2 separate regions of the Homo sapiens genome follow, and region 1 is linked to region 2. Evidence: promoter capture Hi-C in 16 types of primary human blood cells and fetal thymus (Javierre and others, 2016). All regions are on one chromosome and are shown on one strand. The core of a region is centred on a gene start or on the middle of the fragment in contact, and the rest is flanking DNA. Distances in the headings are between cores, read along the strand shown.

The links. The method cuts DNA at HindIII sites, captures the fragments that hold promoters and counts their contacts. A CHiCAGO score of 5 or more calls a contact.
Region 1: a contact is called between a fragment that was not itself captured here and the fragment with the promoter of CRTAP in region 2, in 1 of 17 cell types (M0 macrophages). The highest score is 5.1, in M0 macrophages.

The regions. Positions count from the first base shown.
Region 1 is chr3:38,148,563-38,153,679 of GRCh38, reverse strand. No RefSeq gene overlaps it. Among named protein-coding and RNA genes, the nearest start is that of MYD88, 12 kb to the right of the region's middle. The HindIII fragment of the contact is 4,731 bases long and covers 1-4,465 here.
Region 2 is chr3:33,110,310-33,115,852 of GRCh38, reverse strand. It overlaps CRTAP (cartilage associated protein), which reads right to left and starts at 1,839. Exons shown (of 7, transcript NM_006371.5): 1 at 1,305-1,839. The coding sequence starts at 1,775. RefSeq lists enhancers at 137-1,128, 4,009-4,218 and silencers at 1,080-1,269, 1,710-2,009. The HindIII fragment of the contact is 4,978 bases long and covers 1-2,436 here.

The DNA of each region.
Region 1 (5,117 bases), core at 851-3,350, 5.0 Mb before region 2:
GCTAATTCAATTAGCTCTGCAGTGTCTAGTTGAGCATGAGTGTAATATTGACATAGAATTACATATAACTGTCCTACAGAATGCCCTGCCCAAAAACTTAACCCCTTCAAATCCTAGATAGAAAAAGAGCTTCCTGTGCCCCATGAAGGCATGGGGAGGTGTTGTGGAGGCCTGTACAGAGAGTTGGAATGAAAGCCTACAGAGGTGAGACTTAGTGACTGAAAGAAAATGGTTGGAACTATAGACTTCAGTGCTGGATGCTGGCATCACATTCCTAAGGCCAGATGAGGCCCGCTGCATCTCAGCAGGTGACACATAGCAAGTCAGGAATCAAATCAGGTCAGGCACTCCATGCCAGAGCCAGAGGACAGTACAAGGACCTGCTCACAGAGATCCAAGGCAACTCTTTCTTTCTACCACAAGGTCACGTGAGTCTTCTCTTTCCCAAACTCCCAGACACCATCTTGGCAAGATGAAGGGAGAAGGGAAGGAGGCCTAAAAAACAGCATTTGCCTAAGAGTGATCAAGTTACCCACAACGACACCAAAAAAATCTGATAATATTATTAATTGGCAAGCTAAATTTCCCCTTCCCACCCAGCAGGGCAAGGGTGCATGCAAAAGATTAAATTACGCAAAACAAAGAAGCTACATTGTCTTCTCACCTCTGAGTTATAAATGTGCATACCTACTCTAATGATTTTTATGCTTTAAGTTACAGAGCAGACATATGAATTGTCTGGTTACAGCTAGTCCTTCAGTGAAGCTGGAAACACCCACACAGTTATTGGTAGAGCAGGAAAGGGAGCCCTTGTGACAGGAGCAGTAGTGATTCAGGGCAGACTAAAGATGGGCCCAGTGTTCAACAGCAAAGTGGGCAGAACCCACAGCAGAACAGGAAGCAGACTATCAGTGGACATGGAGGGACTGGGGTTGCAGGAGCACTGCAAGGGGCTTGCAACAAACCCATTTTGTCTCGGTTGCTCGTGACAGAAAACCCAAAGTTCATTAGGATGCCAGCATTCTTGCTGTAACATTGGCCAGATAGAAATGCATTTCACTTTGGCTGGGTACCGTAACTCTTGCCTGTAATCCCAGCACTTTGTGAGGCCGAGGTGGATGGACTGCTTGAGCTCAGGAGTTCGAGACCAGCCTGGCCAACATGGTGAAACCCTGTCTCTACTAAAAATACAAACATTAGCAGGGTGTGGTGGTGTGCACCTGTAATCCCAGCTACTCAAGAGGCTGAGGCAGGAGAATCGCATGAGCCCGGGAGGCGGAGCTTGCAGTGAGCTGAGATTGCACCACTGCACACACCAGCCTGGGTGACAGAGTGGGACCCTGCCTAAAAAAAAAAAAAAAAAAAAAAAAAAGGAAAGAAATCACTCTGACATAAAAGTCTGAGTGTAAGCAGTCCTGAGTGGTAGTTCAACTCTGTAGTGTCAGGGACCCAGGCTCTACCGATTTCATCTCTGCCATCCTCAACATGCAGCTTCCAGCTCCCACCACCACACCCACATTTCTGCAGCATGAGATGGGTAGGTTTTGAAAATATCAGGCACACACCTTTCTGTTGAGGTCACAGACTAAAAGTTGAACATATCACTTCCTCTTACATCCCATTGCTCATAACTTAATCATATGACCATACAAAGGGCGTTGGTTAGTTATTGCCACAAAGATGCTGTGTGACAAACAACCACAAAATATCAGTGGTAGATAACATTAAGCATTTACTTCTTGTTCAAGTGTCTGCAGATCAGATTGTATTTGGCTGATCTAAGTTGGACTCAGCTGGGCTTGGCTCCAGGCTACTCCTGATACCAATTACTATGCCAGTCAGGTCCTAACAGGAAACAAATGGCACACTCAAAATGGACAATTTGAGGACAGTTTAATAAAGGAAGTATTCTCTCTCTACTCTCTGATCTCCCACTGATGCCTCCCATTGGCCAAGCCCAAGAGGAAACCTGTGGACAAGGGGAGCCGGTCAATACCTTGGGTCACAAAGCCTGGTGCAAAGAGCCATGCAAAGTCATGGGCAGGGAATAGGGAAACCAAATGGAATAGTGCAGTACTCTAGGGCCAACCACCTCCAGGAGCCATTATCATTCCTAGGCCTGACAGAGCAAGAGGACTAAGGCCTACTAGAAGCAGAGAAAGTAGGAGAGAGAGAAGACTGCCTGAAAGTAGCTGCAGCCTTTTGTAGAGAGGTGTAATCAGTCCTCAGCAATCCCACAAGAAGAGAGCCAAGGGAATAAATATCCTCACTTCATTCTCTTTCTGCTCTCTGATCTCCCACTGGTGCCTCCTACTGGCCAAGCCCAACAGGAAACCAGTGGGCAAGGGGAGCCTGTTGATGTAATCCTTGAAGGTCATTATCTTGGGGCACAGAGGCTGGTGGAGAACAAGGGAAGATGTGGAGGAGAAGACAGATAATATCTAGCACACAACTCAAACTATTTTAAACAAACAGAGAATTTGCTGGCTCACATATCTGAAAATTCTGGCAGTAAGTCTTGAAGCAGGGGCTCACATGATGTCTTCAGTATCTGGTTTTCTCTACAGGCTTCATACATAAACCTTCATACACAAATATAAATTCTGGAGCCACTTTGGAGCATGATGGCTCTCCTCCCATCACTCTCCAGAATTTAAAACCTTTTACATTCAATCACAGTCGAGCTACCAAAGGAGTCATTGTGTCTCACTGAATCTGTTCAAGTCACATGACATACCTGAACCAATCATAGTGCTCAAAAAAAAAGAGAGGTGCTCTTTGGTTTTGGTCTGTGTCTGGAGGGAAATCGTGGCGTGGAATCTAAATGAGGAGATGGAATGTTGATGGTGGGTAGCCAAAAACACTGTATTATCCTAGGTCTCTCTTCCCAAATGCATGGGGCAACGTTTCTCAACCTTTCTATATCTATTAATTACTTGGGGCTCCTATCAAAGTACAGAATGTATGAGTCAGGTTTGGAGTAGGGCCTGAGAGTCTTTATTTCTAATAAATGGTGTCAATATTACTGGTCCAGGGACCACACTTTGAGTAGCAGCGTTCTTTAGAAGCACAATCCAATATATAGTAGCCACTAGCCATATGTAGTGATTGAGCACTTGAAATGTGGCTAGTCCAAATTGAGATGTGCTGTAACTGTAAAATACACACAAAGTACCTTTTTAAGATTCAATGTGAAAACAATGTAAAATCTCATCAATAGTTTTTATATTGATTACATGTTGAAATAATATTTTAGAGATGACATTTTTATGTAAATGATATTTTACATATATTCTATATATTTTAGATCCTTAGGTTAAATAAAATATGTTATTAAAATTAATTTTGACTGTTTCTTACAACTTTTTTTAATGTGGCTGCTAGAAATTTTTCAATTATGTATGTGGCTCAGAATATCTTTCTGTTGGATAGCCCTGCTTTAGAAAGAGGTAACACCTGAAGCAGCTGAAGTTGTTGTTTTTAAAACACATTCATTTTCACTTATGGATAAGCAACCAGAGTAATCTCCTTTAACAAGAGCCACATGAGACCTATCTCATATGTCCTTGGCCTTGGCCCACCCTCATGACCTCAGGGATAGGTCATTGCAAGTTGAATTAATGCATGAGTGTTTAGGACAAGGAACACTGGAATGGGCCATTTGATCTGAGGAAGGAGGAAATTCTGGAGACTCCAGATTCTCCTTCCTATCCAGCAGTCACTTCATTTCTCATTTTTGTTTGAGCAGCTGCCTGAAGCAGAAACTACTACTGTGCTTATCAACTTCCCTAATCTGTCTTGCGTACGACCACTAAACTAATTTTCTCCACACTCTGGTTTTAACAATTCCTTCCTAACCAGACACGATCCATGCTCCCTGTTGCAGCCTGAGTTCCAGGGCCCCCAGTCATTCCTACTGAACCTGGAGGGTCTTATCCCACCAGTCTACTCCCTGCTCCTAAATATGCCTCTCACTTTCCCCTTCTGCTTAAATTATTTCTTTACTGCTTGAATCTCCTTCCCCTCTTGGTGTCTACCTGCCAATTCTACCACCTTCCAAAGCCCCTAAAGGTCATCTTTTCAAGACCTTTGTCCCACAGAGGCCTGTCTGCAGGACTTGTAGGACATACTGTCTTTGGCACCAGCCAGCACATATGTTATGGAGGACTCTGTTGCCTAACTCTTGAGTTCTTCAGATCTTCTGTGTTTGTGCTTCAATTATTCCACTGGGTTTTAAGTTTCTTGAGAACAGAGCCATGCCTAGCTTAGCTTTATATTCTGCTTTTGACCTGGACCAATATAATAAGTAGGTCCTCAAAAGCCAAGTTGGTCAATTTTTTCAACATAAAATGAAATTGCGGTTGAAAATACATATTCTTTTACATATGCATAAATATAGTTATCAGTGATCACTTTTATAATGAAAAATATTCTTCCTTTAAAAAACAAGATGGAAAATTAAGCTTTGGTCATTGCATAAGCACCCAGGGGCTTTTGTTTCTACTTTATTTATATATTTAATTAAAATATTTAAATAACATTAATTTTATGTTATTTATATAAAATATTATTATTAAATATTAGCAAACTTCAGTATCAATATTAATAAATTTACTTCTGGCTGGGCACAGTGGTTTATGCCTATAATCCCAGCAGCACTTTGGGAGGCTGAGGTGGGTGGATCACCTGAGCCCAGAAGTTTGAGACCAGCCTGGGTGACATGGTGAAACCCTGTCTCTACCAAAAAAAAAAAAAAGTAGCCTGGTGTGGTGGTCTGCACCTGTAATCCCAGCTACTCAGGTTGCTGAACTGGGAGGACTGCTTGAGCCCAGGAGGCAGAGGTTGCAGTTGCAATGAGCCATGATCATGCCTCTGTGCTCCAGCCCAGGCAACAGAGCAAGACCCCATCTCAAAACAAATTTTACTTATATGTTAACTTATTAATTAATAAATTAAATAAAATTTAATATTAATACAATATTAAACTATATTAATTATATTAAATTAAAAATTGCTTGAATTTTTTATTTTGAAATAATTGTAGATTTACAGGAAGTTACAAAAATAGTACAGGGAAGTTCCTATATCCTCAGCACAATTTCCTGCAATGAATACAT
Region 2 (5,543 bases), core at 590-3,089:
TAACCCAGCTTTTCCCCTCTTTGGGGTTTTGTGTTATTTTATTGCTCATATAAATACAATATACACGTGGCTCTGTCTCGGTGGAAATCTGAAAAAACAGATCTTGCAGTCCAGAAACTGAAAACAAAGTTTAAAAACAAAAACCTTCTACCTCAAGAGTCTAGGATATGCCATGAATCTATTTTTGTAGTAATTTTAAAAAACACAATATATTCCTTTTAAAATCTTTCTCAGAGAAAGTAGAAACTGGGCTTTGAGAGGGCTCTTTTAGCCAAACCCTGTGAGGACCCACCAAGCTAGAGCCTCTTTATCTAGTGACAGGGAATCTAACCATTCTTAAAACTTGTGGGTCCTCGGAGTGAGAACCCATAGGATAGAGAACTGCAATTTGTGGCTATTTTTAGCCAGCAATCACAGAGAGAACTTAAGCAGCCATTAAAAGGAGGCAGTGAACTGTGTTAAATTCTAGATGAAAGAGAGAAACAGCGGAGAGGGCCAATCCTGATGACTCACGGTGCACGAGTTCCCCTTTAAGCAGGGATGTGTCCTTGCAAGGAGTCCCTGCCCTTCCCTGGCCTCAATTTCATCCTCTTTAAAAGGAACTAGTCAGCTGGGTGCAATGGCTCACGACTGTAATCCCAGAACTCTGGGAGGCGAGGTGGGAGGATCACTTGAGTCCGGGAGTTCGAGATCAGCCTGGGCAACGTGGCGAAACTCTGTCTCTACAGAAAATACCAAAAAATTAGCTAGGTGTGGTGGCGCGCGCCTATAATCCCAGCTACTCAGGAGGCTGAGGTGGAGGATCACCTGAGCCTGAGGAGGTCAAGGCTGCAGTGAGCCATGATAGCGCCTCTGCACTCCAGCCTGGGCGACTGTGAGACCCTGTCTCAACAAAAAATAAAAATAAAAGGTACTTGTCGGCTCCTCAGGTCTTCTGCTTTATTATCGCAAGTCACCGCTCACTTGAGAAAAAAGGCGACTTTAATGGTATATACAGAAAAGAGGCGTCTGCCCTCAAATAACAGAGAACATTTATCAGGCACTTTGTTGGGTGCCTGGCGCTGTACTGCGTTCTGTGTACGTATTCTCTACCTTAGAGTTACCCTTCAAGAAAGGCATTTTCATCTCTAGTTGAGATGAAGAAGGAGACAGGACTTGGAGGAGACCTTTGGCAGGGCTGGATGGGAGGGAGCCAGGTCTAGAACTGGAGGGGCAACGCGGCCCCGGGCGCAGGGGCGGGGCTAGGGCCTGGAGGCTGGGTCAGGGGCGGGGCCGGGGCCTGGGACGGGGCGAGGCGGACTTGCCTTGAAGTAAGCGAACTGCAGGAACTTGTAGGGCTCGCGGCGCTGGAAGTCCGCCAGCACCTCGCGGCTGGGCTGGGACTGGCGGAAGGCTGGCAGGCCCTGCTTGCAGCGCTTGAGGCAGTGCGCGCGGCGCAGCAGGCCCCCGAAGAGGCGCAGCTCGGGATAGCTGGCGAGGCCGGCGGCGGGCTCGGGCTGCGGCGCGGCGCTGCAGTTGCGGTGGCAGAAGGCCTCGCTGTCGCGCAGCAAGCGGTGCAGCCGCAGGCTGATCTCCAGGTAGCCCACGCTCTCGGCCCAGTGCTCGCCGCTGTACTTGTCCAGCGCGTGCCGGTAGGCCGACTCGAGCGGCATCAGCTCGTCCCGTGGGAAGCTGCGGAAGCTGTAGCGTTCGTATTGGGCGCGCCCGGCGCGCAGCGCGCAGGCCACGCACAGCAGCGCTAGCAGCGCCGCGGCCCCCCGGCGCCCCGGCTCCATCGCGCCCGGCGAAAGGAAGGAAGGAAGGGACGAAGGAAGGGAAAAGGGGAGGGAGAAGGAAAGGAAAGAGGACGGTGCGACGCGGCGGGCCCAGTGCTTTCGGGGCGGGGACGCCAGCCTCCGGCCCGCCCCGTCCGGCCGCCCCTCCCCACCCAGCCGGGGGATCTGGGCGCCAGCTGCCAGCACCTAGAGGGTGCCCGGGAAAGGCGCGCTGCGCACTGGTTCACGCAGGCTGATGCGCATGATGGGACTCTGCCGCTCATTCACTTGGAGACCCGCCTGCAAGGCCGACGCGGCCCTAATAGATTATATACATCGGCCCTACGGTCTATATAATCTACGATCTTTATATTCGTTTGGAGGTTTGTGAAAACGAAGATTCCTGGGCTGTGCCCCCAGAGTTTCTGATTCAGAAAGTCTGGGGTGGAGGTCTGACGATTTGTGTGTTTAACCAGCACCCTGATGAGGCTAATGCTGCGGGCCCAAGGGCCGCACTTTTAATAGCACTGCCCAACCTTAAATTTTAGTGAGAGAAAAAGACAGTGCAAAAATAAAATTAATAAGGATGTCAGCACTTTGTAAACTGTATAGCTAGTCAGGTTGAAGATGTGCACACCTTATGAATCTGCAACACCATTCGGTGGAATATGCTGGAGAAGCTTGCGCGTGTGCATCAAAAAATATGGATGGAATGTTAATGGCAGCACTTTTAAAAAATCTTTAAACTTTTAAATCTTGAAATAATTTACAAGAAAGCTGCAAAAACAGTACAAAAAGTTCCTATATACCCTTCATCAAGATTCACAAGTTGCTAACGTTATACCACATTTCTATCTTTACATTTTTTTCTGACTCATTTGAGATAGGTTGCATGTATCAGGCCCACTGTCCGTTAGTCTTTTTTTTTTCTTTTTTTTTTTCCTTTTTTTTTTTTTGAGACGGAGTCTCGCCCTGTCACCCAGGCTGGAGTGCAGTGGCGCGATCTCGGCTCACTGCAACCTCCGCCTCCCGGGTTCAAGCAATTCTCCCTGCCTTAGCCTCCCGAGTAGCTGGGATCATAGGCACACACCACCATACCTGGCTAATTTTTCTATTTTTTACTAGAGATGAGGTTTTGCCATGTTGGCCAGGCTGTTCTTGAACTCCTGACCTTAGGTGATCTACCTGCCTCTGCCTCCCAAAGTGCTGGGATTACAGGCGTGAGCCACCGTGCCCAACCCCTTAGTCTTTCAGTATGTATGTCCTAAGAATGAAACTACCAGACAATCAAATTTAGGAAATTTAATACTGATAGAAGACTTTAATCATGTTCCATTTCCGGTTATGTCAGCTGTTCCAATTATGTCTTTCATGGCACTTTTTTCTCTTAGGATGCAGTCCATCCGTGATCACTGTTACATCTAGTCTATTTCATATCCTTTAAACTGGTTCCTCGGCTTTTCTTGTCATGCCGTTGTCATTTTTGAAAAATATAGGCCAAAACAGCAATGAGATACCACTACAAAATCCAAAACACTGACAACGTCACATGCTGACAAGGATGTGGAGCAACAGGAACTCTCATTCATTGATAGTGGCAATGCAAAATGGTACATACAGTTTAGAAGACAGTTGGGCCGTTTCTTACAAAACTAGGCATACTCTACTCATACAATCCAGAAATTGCACTTCTTGGTATTTACCCAAATGGGTTAAAACTTATGCACACACCTGCGAATGGATGTTTGTAGCAACTTTATTCACAATTACCATAACTTGGAATCAACCAAGATGTCCTTCAGTGGGTAAGTGGATACATAAACTGTGGTATATACACACAATGGAATTTTATTCCAAGCCAAAAAGAAATGAGCTATCAAGCCATGAAAAGACATGGAGAAGTCTTAAATGCATATTACTGGTTGAAAGAAGCCAAACTGAAAAGGCTACATACTGTGTGATTCCAGCCAAATGACATTCTGGAAAAGGCAAAACTATGGAGACAGTAAAAGGATCAGTGGTTGCTGAGAATTATGGAAAGGGAGGAATGAATGGGTAGAGGACAGGATTATTGGAGCAGTGAAACTATTCTATATGATAGTATAATGGTGGATATATGCTATACATTTGTTAAAATCCATAATATGTACAACACTAAGAGTGAGCCCTAATGTAAACCGGACTTTGGGTGATAACGATGTGTTGATGTAGGTTCATTGATTGTAACAAATGTACCATTCTAGTGCAAGACATTGACAGTGGGGGAGCTTGCGCATGTTGTAGGGTCATGGAGTATATTTGAACTCTGTAGTTTCCGCTCAGTTTCGCTATGAATCTAAAACCACTCTAAAAAATAAAGTCTTTTTTTTGTTTTTTGTTTTGTTTTGAGATGGAGTCTCGCTCTGCTGCAGAGGCTGGAGTGCAATGGCATGATCTCAGCTCACTGCAATCTCCACCTCCAGGGTTCAAGCGATTCTCCTGCCTCAGCCTCCTGAGTAGCTAAGATTACAGGCCCGTGCCACCATGCCAGGCTAATGTTTGTATTTTTAGTAGAGACTGGTTTCACCGTATTGGTCAGTCTGGTCTCAAACTCCTGACCTCATGATCCACCTGCCTCGGCCTCCTAAAGTGCTGGGATTACAGGCATGAGCCACCGCGCCTGGCCTTTTTTTTTTTTTTTTTTTAAAGAACACAGGCCAGTTAACTTTATAAAAAGTTCCTCATTTGAGGTTTTCCTGATGTTTCCTCATGACTAAATTCAGATTAAGCTCATGACTAAATTCAGATTAAGCTCATGACTAAATTCAGATTAAGCTCTTTGGCTAGAATGCCACAGAAGCAATGTGCCATCCGTCTCAGGTGTAAAATCTAAATAACACAATGCCCACCCCTTGTCTGTGTTAATTTTGATCACTTTATTAAGGTGATGTCTGTTTTCCCTACTTCATTTGTTTTCTTTTGTAATTAACAAGTGTCTACAGTAAGGTAACGCAACATTGTTCTTAATGGCAGAAAGCAGGAATAACCTGTCCATAAACAGAAGAGTAGATTTAAAAAAAAATGAGAGTAAATGCATATAGAAGAATATATTATAGCAGGGAAAATGAAAGAATTAGAGCTACAAATAACAGTTCAATCTGGGGGCGGGGGGGAACCATTGAGAATGATTCCATTTGCCTAAAGTTTTTTTGTTTGTTTGTTTTTTGTTTTTTGTTTTTTTTTTTTTGAGACAGAGTCTCGCTCTGTCGCCCAGGCTGGAGTGCAGTGGCGCCATCTTGGCTCACTGCAACCTCTACCGCCCGGGTTCAAGCGATTCTCCTGCCTCAGCTTCCCGAGTAGCTGGGATTACAGGCACCTGCCACCACACCCAGCTAATTTTTTTTTTTTTTTTTTTAAGACTGAGTCTCACTCTGTCGCCCAGGCTGGAGTACAGTGGTGCGATCTCGGCTCACTGCAACCTCTGCCTCCCAGTTTCAAGCAATTCTCCTGCCTCAGCCTCCTGAGTAGCTGGGATTACGGGCGCCCGCCACCACAGCTGGCTAATATTTTGTATTTTTAGTAGAGATGGGGTTTTACCATGTTGGTCAGGCTGGTCTCAAACTCCTGACCTCAAGTGATCCACCCATCTCGGCCTCCCAAAGTGCTGGGATTACATGCGTGAGCCACTGCACCCGGCCTGCACCTGGCTAATTTTTGTAGTTTTTAGTATAGACAGGGTTTCACCATCTTGGCTAGGCTGGTCTTGAACTCCTGACCTTGTGATCCATCCACCTCGGCCTCCCAAAGTGC